Regions from separate parts of the Homo sapiens genome. Here regions 1, 2 and 3 are each linked to region 4. Evidence: promoter capture Hi-C in human tissues and cell types (Jung and others, 2019). All regions are on one chromosome and are shown on one strand. The core of a region is centred on a gene start or on the middle of the fragment in contact, and the rest is flanking DNA. Distances in the headings are between cores, read along the strand shown.

Evidence for each region. Contacts are between HindIII fragments. The study calls those that stand out against the background at their distance.
Region 1: a contact is called between a fragment that was not itself captured here and the fragment with the promoter of ZNF106 in region 4, in 1 of the 25 tissues and cell types used here (hippocampus).
Region 2: a contact is called between the fragment with the promoter of TYRO3 here and the fragment with the promoter of ZNF106 in region 4, in 1 of the 25 tissues and cell types used here (hippocampus).
Region 3: a contact is called between the fragment with the promoter of TGM5 here and the fragment with the promoter of ZNF106 in region 4, in 1 of the 25 tissues and cell types used here (adrenal gland).

Annotation. Positions count from the first base shown.
Region 1 is chr15:41,665,726-41,668,541 of GRCh38, reverse strand. All of the region lies in intron 1 of MGA (MAX dimerization protein MGA), which reads right to left. Among named protein-coding and RNA genes, the nearest start is that of MGA, 6.7 kb to the right of the region's middle. The HindIII fragment of the contact is 4,748 bases long and covers 1-2,816 here.
Region 2 is chr15:41,557,873-41,560,600 of GRCh38, reverse strand. TYRO3 (TYRO3 protein tyrosine kinase) reads right to left here and starts at 1,389. Exons shown (of 19, transcript NM_006293.4): 1 at 1,220-1,389. The coding sequence starts at 1,343. RefSeq lists enhancers at 261-902, 1,469-1,970 and silencers at 774-974, 1,281-1,450, 1,461-1,600, 1,539-1,705, 1,651-1,740. The HindIII fragment of the contact is 10,010 bases long and covers 1-2,728 here.
Region 3 is chr15:43,265,558-43,268,541 of GRCh38, reverse strand. It overlaps TGM5 (transglutaminase 5), which reads left to right and starts at 1,614. Exons shown (of 13, transcript NM_201631.4): 1 at 1,614-1,702. The coding sequence starts at 1,693. It also overlaps the pseudogene ATP5PDP1. The HindIII fragment of the contact is 9,168 bases long and covers 1-2,729 here.
Region 4 is chr15:42,489,704-42,492,448 of GRCh38, reverse strand. It overlaps ZNF106 (zinc finger protein 106), which reads left to right and starts at 1,308. Exons shown (of 22, transcript NM_001366845.3): 1 at 1,308-1,469. It also overlaps a transcript of SNAP23 not described here. RefSeq lists enhancers at 1,136-1,245, 1,546-1,595, 1,646-1,835. The HindIII fragment of the contact is 10,038 bases long and covers 1-2,745 here.

The sequences.
Region 1 (2,816 bases), core at 87-2,586, 820 kb after region 4:
AGTATATTCATTATTAAAAAAGTATACAAAATTAAAAAGTTAAATTTGAAGGTTATGCATTTTTAAAGCATCCTAACACTTTATGAATTTACCAGAAGATTCCTTTATATAGCAAGTTCCCCAGTGATGAGTAAATTAAATAAGTAAAGTTCCATTTTCATCCCAAAGAGCTAATTGTACAGAATTAGTTCTTCATATGGTTCAGAAGACATGGTTCCATAAATAAGTAAAAAGCTATCTAACTTCTTAGTACACACGTTTAAAGAAGCCATGACAAATCACTGGAACTCAATGGACCTTACACTGAAATAAATTCCAGATGACTCTAATATTTAATTTTTTTATTCCTAAATCCTGAGAAAAGTTTTTTGATAAGACACAAAATCTAAAACCAGTAAGGCCAAAAAAAAAAAAAGTGATAAATTTAATACTATATGATGCCAGGTGTGGTGGCTCACACCTGCAATCCCAGCACTTTGAGAGGCTGAGGCCAGTGGATCATTTAAAGCCAGGAATTCGAGACTAGCCTGGCCAACATGGCGAAACCCCATCTCTATTAAAAATTAAAAAATTAGCCTGGTGTGGTGGTGCACGCCTGTAGTCCCAGCTACTCAGGAGGCTGAGGCATGAGAATCACTTGATCCTAGGAGGCAGAAGGTGCACTGAGCCAAGATCACGCCACTGCACTCCAGCCTGGGTGACAGGGAAAGACTCCGTCTCAAAGAAATAAAAATAAAATAAAATTTAATATTCTGTAAATTTTTTAATCTGGCAAAATCATTTAAGCAAAATCAAAAAGCAAACTAACCAGGAAAAGGTATTTGCAACTTATAAAGAACTCCTTTCCCTAATATAAAAAGGGGGCTGGACATGGTGACTCACACCTATAATCCCAGCACTTTGGGAGGCCAAGGCAGGAGGATTGCTTGAAGTCAGGAGTCCCAGACCAGCCTGTCCAACGTAGTGAAAGTCCGTCTCTATTAAAAAATAATAGCGGCGGGGGAGCAGTGGCTCACGCCTGTAATCCAAGCACTCTGGGAGGCCAAGGAGGTCAGATCACTTGAGGTCAGGAGCTCAAGACCAGCCTGGCCAACATGGTGAAACCCTGTCTCTACTAAAAATAAAAAAATTAGCTAGGCATGGTGGTGTGCGCCCATAATCCCAGGTACTCGGGAGGCTAAGACAAGAGAATTGCTTGAACCCAGGAGGTGGAGTTGCAGCGAGCCAAGATGGCACCACTGCACTTCAGCCTGGGTGACAGAGCGAGACTCTGACTCAAAAAAAAAAATAAAAATACATTAACAGTAATAATAATTTTTAAAGGCTTCCTACAAATCAACAAGACCAAATACCTAACAGAAAAATGAGTAAAGGATAATAAACGCAAATGGCTATGAATATGTACATAGTTAAGAGGAAAGCAAATTAAAGTCATCTTGAGATACTGTTTTTTTACTTATCAGACTGGCAAAAATCAAAGCCTGGTAGTGCTGGAAAGGGTTAGGTCAACCAGCATTCTCCCCTAAGCAGTTACTGGGAGTATAAAATAATAGAATCTCTAAGAGAGGGCAACTTGAAAATATCAAAAGTACAAATCCATATATCATCCTATGACAAAGAATTGTTCCCAGGACTTTAAGTTTTCTTAATTCACTGTTAAAACCCACTATAGGACTTTATTTTAAATACACACACCTGTGATAAATGATATCTATACAAGATTATCCCCTGCATTCCCACTTATAACAGCAAAAGACTAGACAGGAAGAGAGAAGTCCTTAAAATGGTAAAACAAATGATGACACATCCATAGAGTGGAATGTTAACAGTCACAAAAGAGAATGTATAAGCTTAATGAATGCATGCAAAAAGTATCTACAAGATATATTAAGCGTAAAATGTTCAGAAGAGTTGTAAATTATGCCACACATCTTTTAAAAGTTTTTTATTGTACCTCTTAAACTTCAGACAGGGAGAACACGTGCAGGTTTGTTTACATGAGTCTACTGCATAATATAAGGTTTGGGCTTCTAATGATCCCATCATCCAAGCAGTGAACATAGTACCTGATAGGTAGTTTTTCAACCCTTGTAAAAGATTTTTCCTTTTTAAAATCAAAGAAATAGACAGTATTTCGGTCTTTAAAATAAATAAAAAGCCAAAGAATGAAAAAGAACATGTACATATTTGCTTTACACAGACTATCTCTGGAAAGACAGAAAAGAAAACAGTAGTATTGGTCATATCCAAGGAAAACTTGATGACTTGGAAAAGATACCCTTTTACACTTTGTAAATTTTGTGTCTTGTGAACACACAACCTTTAAAAACTAAAACACAGGCCAGGTGGGCAGGTGCAGTGGCTCACACCGGTAATTCCATCACTTTAGGAGGCCCATGTGGGAGTAACGTTTGAGGTCAAGAGTTCAAGACCAGCCTGGTCAAAATAGCCAGTCAGTCTCTACCAAAAAAAAAAAAAAAATAGCAGGTATGGTGGCCAGGAGGCTGAGGCAGGAGGACACCTTCAGCAGCCCTGGAAGTTCAGGTTGCAGTGAGCCATAACCATATCACTGCACTCCAGCCTAGGAGACAGAGTGAGACCCCGTCTCTTTAAAAAAATAAAAAATAAAGTTAAAATTAGTTAATTATTAAAGGTTATAAAGAAAAAGGTCACATATATTGTATGATTCCATTTATATGAGATGTCCAACACAGGCAAATCTAGAGAAACAAAGTAGATTAGTGGTTTCAGGGGAAGGGGTAACTGGGACTAACTGCTAATGGGTGTGGGATTTCTTTTTGGTGTATACTTTAAAA
Region 2 (2,728 bases), core at 140-2,639, 930 kb after region 4:
GCAGCCATCCACTCTATTAATACCTGAATGTGGGCAGGGGCGAGTGCTAGGAAGGTGGGAGGCAGAAGGGAGGGCTGGGGCCCTGAGCAGGGAGCCTAAGACCCCTGAGCCACTGCCACATTAACAGGGGCCACTCTTTGGAACTTGCGTGCGAGCGCGCGCGCGCGCGCGCACACACACACACACACACACACACACACACACACATACACGCACCTCTCCTGGCCTCCTGGCATGTTTTTAAGCAGAGAGAGGGGCAGGTCAAGTATCCACATAACTGAAATCCAGCCCTGCTTCTTCTCACCCTTTGCTGTGTGACTCTAGGCAAAGTCGTGGGCTCCCTGAGCATCAGGTCCGCACCTTTCGGCTTGTAAATACTCGTCACCCCGTTTCCCTTCCCTTCCCTGAGAGGCTGATATGGCAAGGAATGCTGTCTCAAGAGAAGATGCCAGCGGGTGGCCGCTGTCCTGGCCTGTGGCTCTTCCCTGCTCCCTTCACCCTCTCAGGACCAGTCACAGGATGGGGGCCAGCCTCCCGCTCCCTATATGCCCATCAGTCCCCGAGGTGCGGGGTGGGAACTTGGAGAGCACCGTGCTGCATGGAACGCTCTTGTCACCAGCAAATGCCTCAGTGGCTATGTGGGAACACAAGACTAACCCCTCCCAAAGACCAGCAACCTGGCACCAGCCCATCCTCTCCAAGGTTCTGCTTTCAGGAAGCTCTGAGGGCACAGGAACTCGAGTGTGCCCATTTGTTTTTTGTGACTGGGCACCCTCACAGCCCCTGTGTACCTAAATGGTATCAGGGTGGCCTTTGGGTGCCCAGCCCCGGCCCGTGTGGTTTCCGAGGCGGACCTTCGCGTGCGGGGCAGGCAGAATGGGGTCCCCAGTACTGGGAAGGAGGGAGCTAACAGCTGGGAACATCGAGGCGGGAAAATGCAGTCCCAAACACTCCCCGCTGACCACACAGCCCACACCCCGCTCCCTTCTCTTCCACCCCGCCAGAAGAGCCCCGAGCGCCAGAAAGTTGGGGGTGGGGGCCCGGCCGGAGATCTGGCGGCGAGCACTCCGCAGCGTGCCCTGTCCCGGCTCCGAGCCTCGGCCTTCGGCTCCGGACCCCCACCCCGACTCCAGCCCGCCAGGCCCGCCCCGGGCTCCGACCCCCGGCCGCGCCCCTCCGCAGCCCCCCGCTTCCCGCCGCCTCCCGTGCCAGCCCCTACCTGCGGCGGCGGACTCCGGGAGCAGCAGAGAAGCCAGAGCCGCCAGCAGCAGCCCGAGCCGCGGTGGCGGCGGCAGCGGCAGCGGCGGGAGCCCCGGCCGCCCCATGCTCCGCCTCAGCGCCATCGGCGGCGACGCCGCACCATGCCGGGCCCGGCCCGCGAGCGAGGAGGGAGGAGGGCGGGGAGGAGGCGGCGGGAAGGGAGCGGGAGGGAGGAGGGCTGCGGGAGGGGCTGGGGCCGCCCGTGGGGCGGTGCTGAGGCGACCGCCTCCGAGACCCGCGCCCGCCTCCGGCCGCGGTCGCCGCCGTCAGCAGCGCGGGGTCCCCGGGGCCGCTCCCGCGCCACCGCGCTCCTTCCACTGCCGTCGCCGCCGTCGCCGCCGCTGATTCATGTTCTTCTCGGAGCCGCCGCCTCCTCCCGGCCCGCCCGCAGCCCGAGCTCGCACCGCCCCCCCGCGGAGCCCCGGCGACTGGCTCGGAGCGCGAATCCCAGCCAGCGCCGCAAACCCCCGCGGCCCCGCCGGCGCCCCGCCGGCACGCCGGCCCCAGCCGCCCCCTGGCCAAACCTGAGGATCCGGCTTGGCCTCCAGGATGGGCTCCCCGGCCACGCCCCTCCTTTCCCTAAACCCGCTCCGGCATCTTTTCTAACCCAGCCCTCCAGAGCCTTCCCTCAAAACCCCGCTGTCAGCCCCCACCACACCCCAACTCTTGTTCGGACTCTGATCCCAGAATCCAGCATCCCCCTCTCAGGACTTAGAGCACCTCAACCCCTAGACACTCCCATCCATCTGGCTCCCCGAAACTGCCGTGACCCGGGGCTCCCCCAACAGGATCGGCTAGCATCCCTTCGTGCCTCCCTTTCATTGAGCCATTCACCCAAAATCCCCATATTCATGTCCTATTGCCATGCCTTTATCTCCAAGTCCCTCCCACCTGAAAAATGCCCATTTTCTCCAGCCCCAATTGCCGTATGTTTTCCAACTTGGGTCCTGAGTTTCCCAAGATCTTGGTAATCCCCAGGTTTTACCTAATATATATCCCCACCACTACACTACACAGGCCAAAGCCTAATTGCCCGTATCTTTTTGGGCTGTCATTTTTCCTGGTTGCTTCCCCTGCTTCTACCCCTTTTCCCAGGACCTGGTGTGAAAGTTGGCTGTGTCGTCACACTGTCCAGTCAAACATTAGCTATTATTAGTAGACCACCTTGCACACAGTAGGCTTTCCATAAATAAATAGGCAGATGCCTGTTAAATGAATGAATAATTGCTTCAGAGCCTGCCCCACAACCAGTAATCACGAGGGTGGCCTTGCCCACAGACATCCTGTTAGGCACATGCAGAGCTGGTTCCAAACCAAGCCTACCAAGTGTGCTCCTCCCCTTGCCCTTCCCTCCAGGGGGAAGCCCACCCCACACCCCTTCCAGAGGTCCTGGGTAGAGAGGAGGGACCAGCCACTCAGCTCCGGTTGCCGCAGGCTCACTGGATCTTTTCAGGGATTCTCCTGAGCA
Region 3 (2,984 bases), core at 365-2,864, 780 kb before region 4:
GAGAAAGGGCAGGGGCTGCTAGGGAAGCTGGGGATGAGAGTTGAAGGTGGATGTGCTGTGTTAAAATAGTGAACTGCATTTGTGCACATATACCCTATAAGAGGTGAGTGGGGTGTGGGCCATGGGCTGCCATGGTCAGTGAAGTATACCAAGATGGCTGGGTGAAAACTTGCTCTAAAAACCATTGACTGGGTAGCTTTTGCAGAGATGATACCCCAAAACCAAAAGGCCATTGCTAATTATCTGAAATCCTGGAATGAGACCCTCACCTCCAGGCTGGCTACTTTACCTGAGAATCCACCAGCTATTGACTGGACTTACTACAAGGCCAATGTGGCCAAGGCAGGCTTGGTGGATGACTTTGAGAAGAAGTTTAATGTCCTGAAGCTTCCTGTACCAGAGGATAAATATACTGCCCAGGTGGATGCTGAAGAAAAAGAAGATGGGAAAACTTGTGCTGAGTGGGTGTCTCTCTCAAAGGCCAGGTTGGAGAATATGAGAAACAGCTGGAGAAGATGAGGAACTTAATACCATTTGATCAGATGACCATTGACGACTTGAACGAAGCTTTCCCGGAAACCAAATTAGACAAGAAAAAGTATCGCTATTGGTCTCACCAACCAATCAAGAATTTATAAAATTAAGTCCAGGAAGAAGCCCTGGCCCTTATAGTACACATTCTGGACATTAAAAATAAAAATAATTACATAGGTTTTAAAAAAGAGCTGAGTGGGGACAGAGAGAATTGAAAATACAGGAGGGAGGACAATGCTGGTGAAAGAGGTTCCCCAGGGAGAAGGACCCAGAAAGCAGGGGATGTGGGGAGAAGTGCCCCAGAGCACAGAAAGACAGGGTAGGCATGGGGGTCCCACCCACTCCACAGGCAGAGCCCTTCCCCCTCCTGCCCTCTCTCTCCTTCCACCTGCGCTTTTCTCCCTATGAAAGGGCTTGTGCCTTTCTTACTAGGATCAAGGCCCTTGCTCACCGGCATTCCCACCCTCTCACCTATTTCCACACCTCCTCCACAAATCTTCCCAATTTTTCTTCCTCTATTTTATTTGTGATTATTTGCTTTTATTTGTGATTTGTCTTGGACCTGCCAGGTCTCATGCAAGACAATGCCACTGCCAAAGCTAAATACAGTGAAATCATACCGAAGGAGATCCAGACAGAGAGGGTTCTGTTTGCATTTAATGTTCAGGAAGTGACTTTTCAGGATAAAAGAGAGGCCTTGGTTACCTAGCAGGGTTCTCGGCTCAATGAGGTGCTTTAAGCTGTGAGCAGAGTCTTGGGACCCTGATGCTCCTTCCAGCAGCCCCCTGCATCCCTCTGGCGGGCCCATCAGCTCGCTTCTCCCTCCTGACTTCTCCACCACAGCACAGCACCTCCCTGGGAATGCCCTATTGCTCAAGAGCTATCAAAGGCCCACACGGCATAAGGCTGTGACAGTTCATCAGCCTCCACACCTCCTTTCAATTCAGCAACACTGCCAAGAAAAACCTGAGGGCAAGTGAGCAAACCAGTTGTGATCTGCTCGGTAATCAGGTGGCAGTGCAGCAGTCCAGCCCCGCCTTCGGTTCTCCTGGAGGCTTCCAATGGAAGGGGAAGTAGACACTCTGGCACCAGTTTGCTGAAGCTCCAGACCGCCCAGCTGTTCTGTGGGGAGCATCCCAGGAACCGGAGGCAGCTACCATGGCCCAAGGTAGGGAAAGCCCCTGTGGCCACTGGAGTTCAGGGATAAGAAGGACAGAGAGAGACTGTAGGAAGTCAAGGGGTGGAGGGTGGATTCAGAGAAATAAAGAAGTAAATACAGAACTGAGGCAGGAAAAGCAAGAATCCCAGAAACCTCAGTATTCATTGGTGGCTTGAGAACCAGGAGACAGCGTAGAGGCAGACAGGTAAACACAGCACACAGCTGCTTGCTAACATGCCTGCCTCCATAGCCAGGTGGGACAGGGCAGGGCCAGAGATGAGGGGGTCAGGGTTTCTGTCCTTCTCTGCTACTAGCTGACCCTTTGACATTGGACAAGTCACTTCGCCTCTAGTTTCCAACCCCCTTGCCTGAAAAAGGAGGGATTGGACCAGACAATCTTGAAATTGTCTTCCAGCTCTTAAGTTCTCTGAATCTTCATATCTTCTCTTCTTCCTCCATTTCAGAAGGTCTATTACTGATCTTAGCTAATCTTCCCATCACCAACCTTCTCTCTATATCATCCCCCTCACTCTGGAAAGAGTTGCTGTGAAGATTAAATCGTTAGTTGAAATCATTTAGAGGAATAAGCTTTCAACTTCCTCTACAACTGTAACAACCTTACCTTTATTTATTACTTTTTGTGTTTAAATTTTTGTTTTAAAATTTTCATAACTTTTAATTGCACAAGAAATATGGGAATACATAGTTGGAGTAAAATAAATAAATAATTATAGATAAAGCTATAGTCCTCTGCCCGCCATCCCCAATGGCAGCCTCATCTCCAGAGTAAACACTGTTACCTGTCTTTTGTCTGCACATTTACACTCAGACATACATTTACTCAATGTAATACATAGGATTAGCATGTGTGGTCTTTTTTGGTATATCCATGGTATCATCATATTGTATGTATATTTCTACAACTTGATTTTTTTCACTCCACAGTATGTCTGGGAGCTCTGTCCATGCCAGTCAGTACCTATAGATCTACCTCAATATTTCTCATAGTATCAGTGCAAGTAATTTCTAATCCTGTCCCCTATTGATGGGCATTTAGGTTGTTTTCAATTTTCCGGTTACACAAGCAATATTGCAAGGAACATACTTATCCATGCCTCTGTGTGCTCACGTGGGAGTGTCTCTCTAGGATAACTACTAAGATCACTTACTTTAAAAGTTCTTTCTACAGTCTTCTGTTTATTTCCTGATCATCTCACCCCATTCTCCTCTCACCTCAAGGAAAACAAATATGCCCAGTAGTCAATGAACCTCCTATTTGAATAGATGGCAC
Region 4 (2,745 bases), core at 59-2,558:
CTCGTCCTCCCAAAGTGCTGGGATTACAGGCGTGAGCCACTGTGCCCCACCGCTGCTTACTTTTATTTGAGACGTTGAAGGTCTTGTTAAACAGAGATGTTATAATCTCAATAATATAGGAGGGACACTCCACATAATTATCAACCTGAATGTCATTTCATTTATCTGATAGTCTTAGTCACTAAAATTAGGTTTCTGAGGGAATGGGTATGGGCTAAGTTTAATAATAAATATAGGCGGCCGGGCGCGGTGGCTCACACCTGTAATACCAGCACTTAGGGAAGCCGAGGTGGGCGGATCATTTGAAGTCAGGAGTTTGAGACCTGCCTGGCCAATATGGCGAAACCCCATCTCTACTAAAAATACAAAAATTAGTTGGGCGTGGTAGTGCACGTCTGTAATTCCAGCTACTTGGGAGGCTGAGGCAGGATTATCGCTTGAACCCGGAAGGTGGAGGTTGCAGTGAACCAAGAGAGCGGTTCTGCACTACAGCCTGAACGACAGAGCAAGACTCCATCTCAAAATAACTAACTAACTAACTAACTAAATAAATAAATAATAAATGTAGGCTGGGCGCGGTGGCTGACACCTGCAATCCCAGAACTTTGGAAGGCCAAGGCAGGCAGATCACTTGAGCCGAGGAGTTTGAGACCAGCCTGGGCAACATGGTGAAACCCCGTCTCTACTTAAAAAATATTATAAATACCTTAGGCATGAGTAAGAATAAAGTCAGTATTATGGAATGTCTGCTCTGTGATAGGCAGCATTCATAGATAAACACTTGACCTATGTTATTTAATCCTAGCAACACCCTGTGAGATAACATTATCCTAATTTTAACTCAAGAACCTGAGGTTCCAAGAAGAATTGTAATTTACCCAAAGTCACAAATTATTCGTAGCTAGTCCAAGATCTGAAACTCAGGTCTGGCTGTTCTAAAGCTCTTGCACCTTCCATTCAACTTCAGAAAGTTTTACAAGGAAGGAGTGTTTTCAAAATGTAGCCCGAACAGTTGCCACTGACTAAAGGAAATGGCGGGACACCAAGGAAGAGAGTAGGAGCTACAGGGAGGCCGGGAAAGAACAAGGAGAAACAAGGAGAATGAAAAAGGGACCAGGGAGGCTGTTCATAGCGTCCAACGCTGCGTACTGACTCTCCCGCAAGCGGGCCTGCCTTTGTTCTTCCTCCATTCTTTTTGAGAAAAACCTCTTCCTGTGTGTCCGTTGTTCACTCTCTTGTGTTCAAATAAAGCTAGATTATTGAGAACTGCGGACGGCAAAGGAAAAAAAAGCGAGCGTGACGGCTTCGGTGTGCGCCTGCGCGTTGGCGGCGGCTGTGGCGGGGCCCGGCGGGGAGCGGGTCCGGAGCAGGCTCCCGGACCCAAAACTGAAGGGGGCGTCTGAGGCGTCAGGGAGCTCCCTCGCCTGGCTCTCGGCGGCCTGATGGAGTAAGAGGGGTTGGCTGTGAATGTGAGTATCGACGGGCCGGCCTGCGTTGAGCGTATCGGAGCCCAAGGGTCCTGGTCGTCTGCCCCTTAGGGAGGTTGTGGGGCTGCAAGACACCACCGGGTTTCTACTCCTGCAGGCTGCGGCTCAGGGGCAACCTGGTGGTCCACTCTCCCAGAGCCGGCGCGGGTTTATGGGCAGGCGGTGCTGCTGGCTTCGGGGTACGGATTTTCGCGGGGGCGTTCCAGCTCTGCTCCCAGCCCCAGAAGGAAACGTGGCTCCAAAGCCTTGACCTTTAGGGGAAGCCACTGACCTCCTTCGTCCCCAGTTGGGCAGGGAGTCCAAAGACCCTGGTCCTTAAAGCCCGTAGGTCTCAGGCCAGGGACACATTTCAACCTCTCGCGACTGACAACCTCCGTTCTTTTTCCTCCTTTCGTTTCTCTCCTTGTGGGATGCGTCTTGATAATAACAACTAATAACAAATAGTAACAACAGCTTACTGTGTCCGTTTAATATTTAGTCCGAATCTCGGTGTATAATTGTGGAGAGGAAATGCTTTACATCCTCTTCCCCTTTCAATTTGTTGTGTAATCATCTTTGAGAGTAAGATTAAGGCATCTTATTGAGAAGTTTGAGATATCCGTGGCTTTTAGCAACTTGAGACTGTCATCCTAGGTAAGCGAAGTTCTCTTACCTAGCAAATAAGTGCTGTATCCACCATAATGGTTTATATCCAGTTTATTCAAAGCACAAATAACTTCTTTTTTTTTTTTTGAGACAAAGTTTCGCTCTTGTTGCCAGGCTGGGGTGCAGTGGCGCGATCTTAGCTCACTGCAACCTCCGCCTCCTGGATTCAAGCAATTCTCCTGCCTCAGCCTACCCAGTAGCTGGGATTACAGGCACCCACCACCATACCTGGCTAATTTTTTGTATTTTTATTTATTTTTATTATTATTATTTTTTTTAGGACGGAGTTTCGCTCTTTCGCCCAGGCTGGAGTGCAGTGGCGGGATCTTGGCTCACTGCAACCTCCGCCTTCCAGTTTCAAGAGATTCTCCTGCCTCAGCCTCCCGAGTAGCTGGGATTGCAGGCGTGCACCACCACCACGCCCGGCTAATTTTTGTATTTTTAGTAGAGACGAGGTCTCACCATGTTGGCCAGGCTAGTCTCCAACTCCTGACCTTAGGTGATCCACCCACCTTGGCCTCTGAAAGTGCTGGGATTACAGGCTTGAGCCACCACGCCCGGCCCACAGATAACTTTTGAGTGCTTATTAAGAGCTTAGTACTGTTGTAAATAG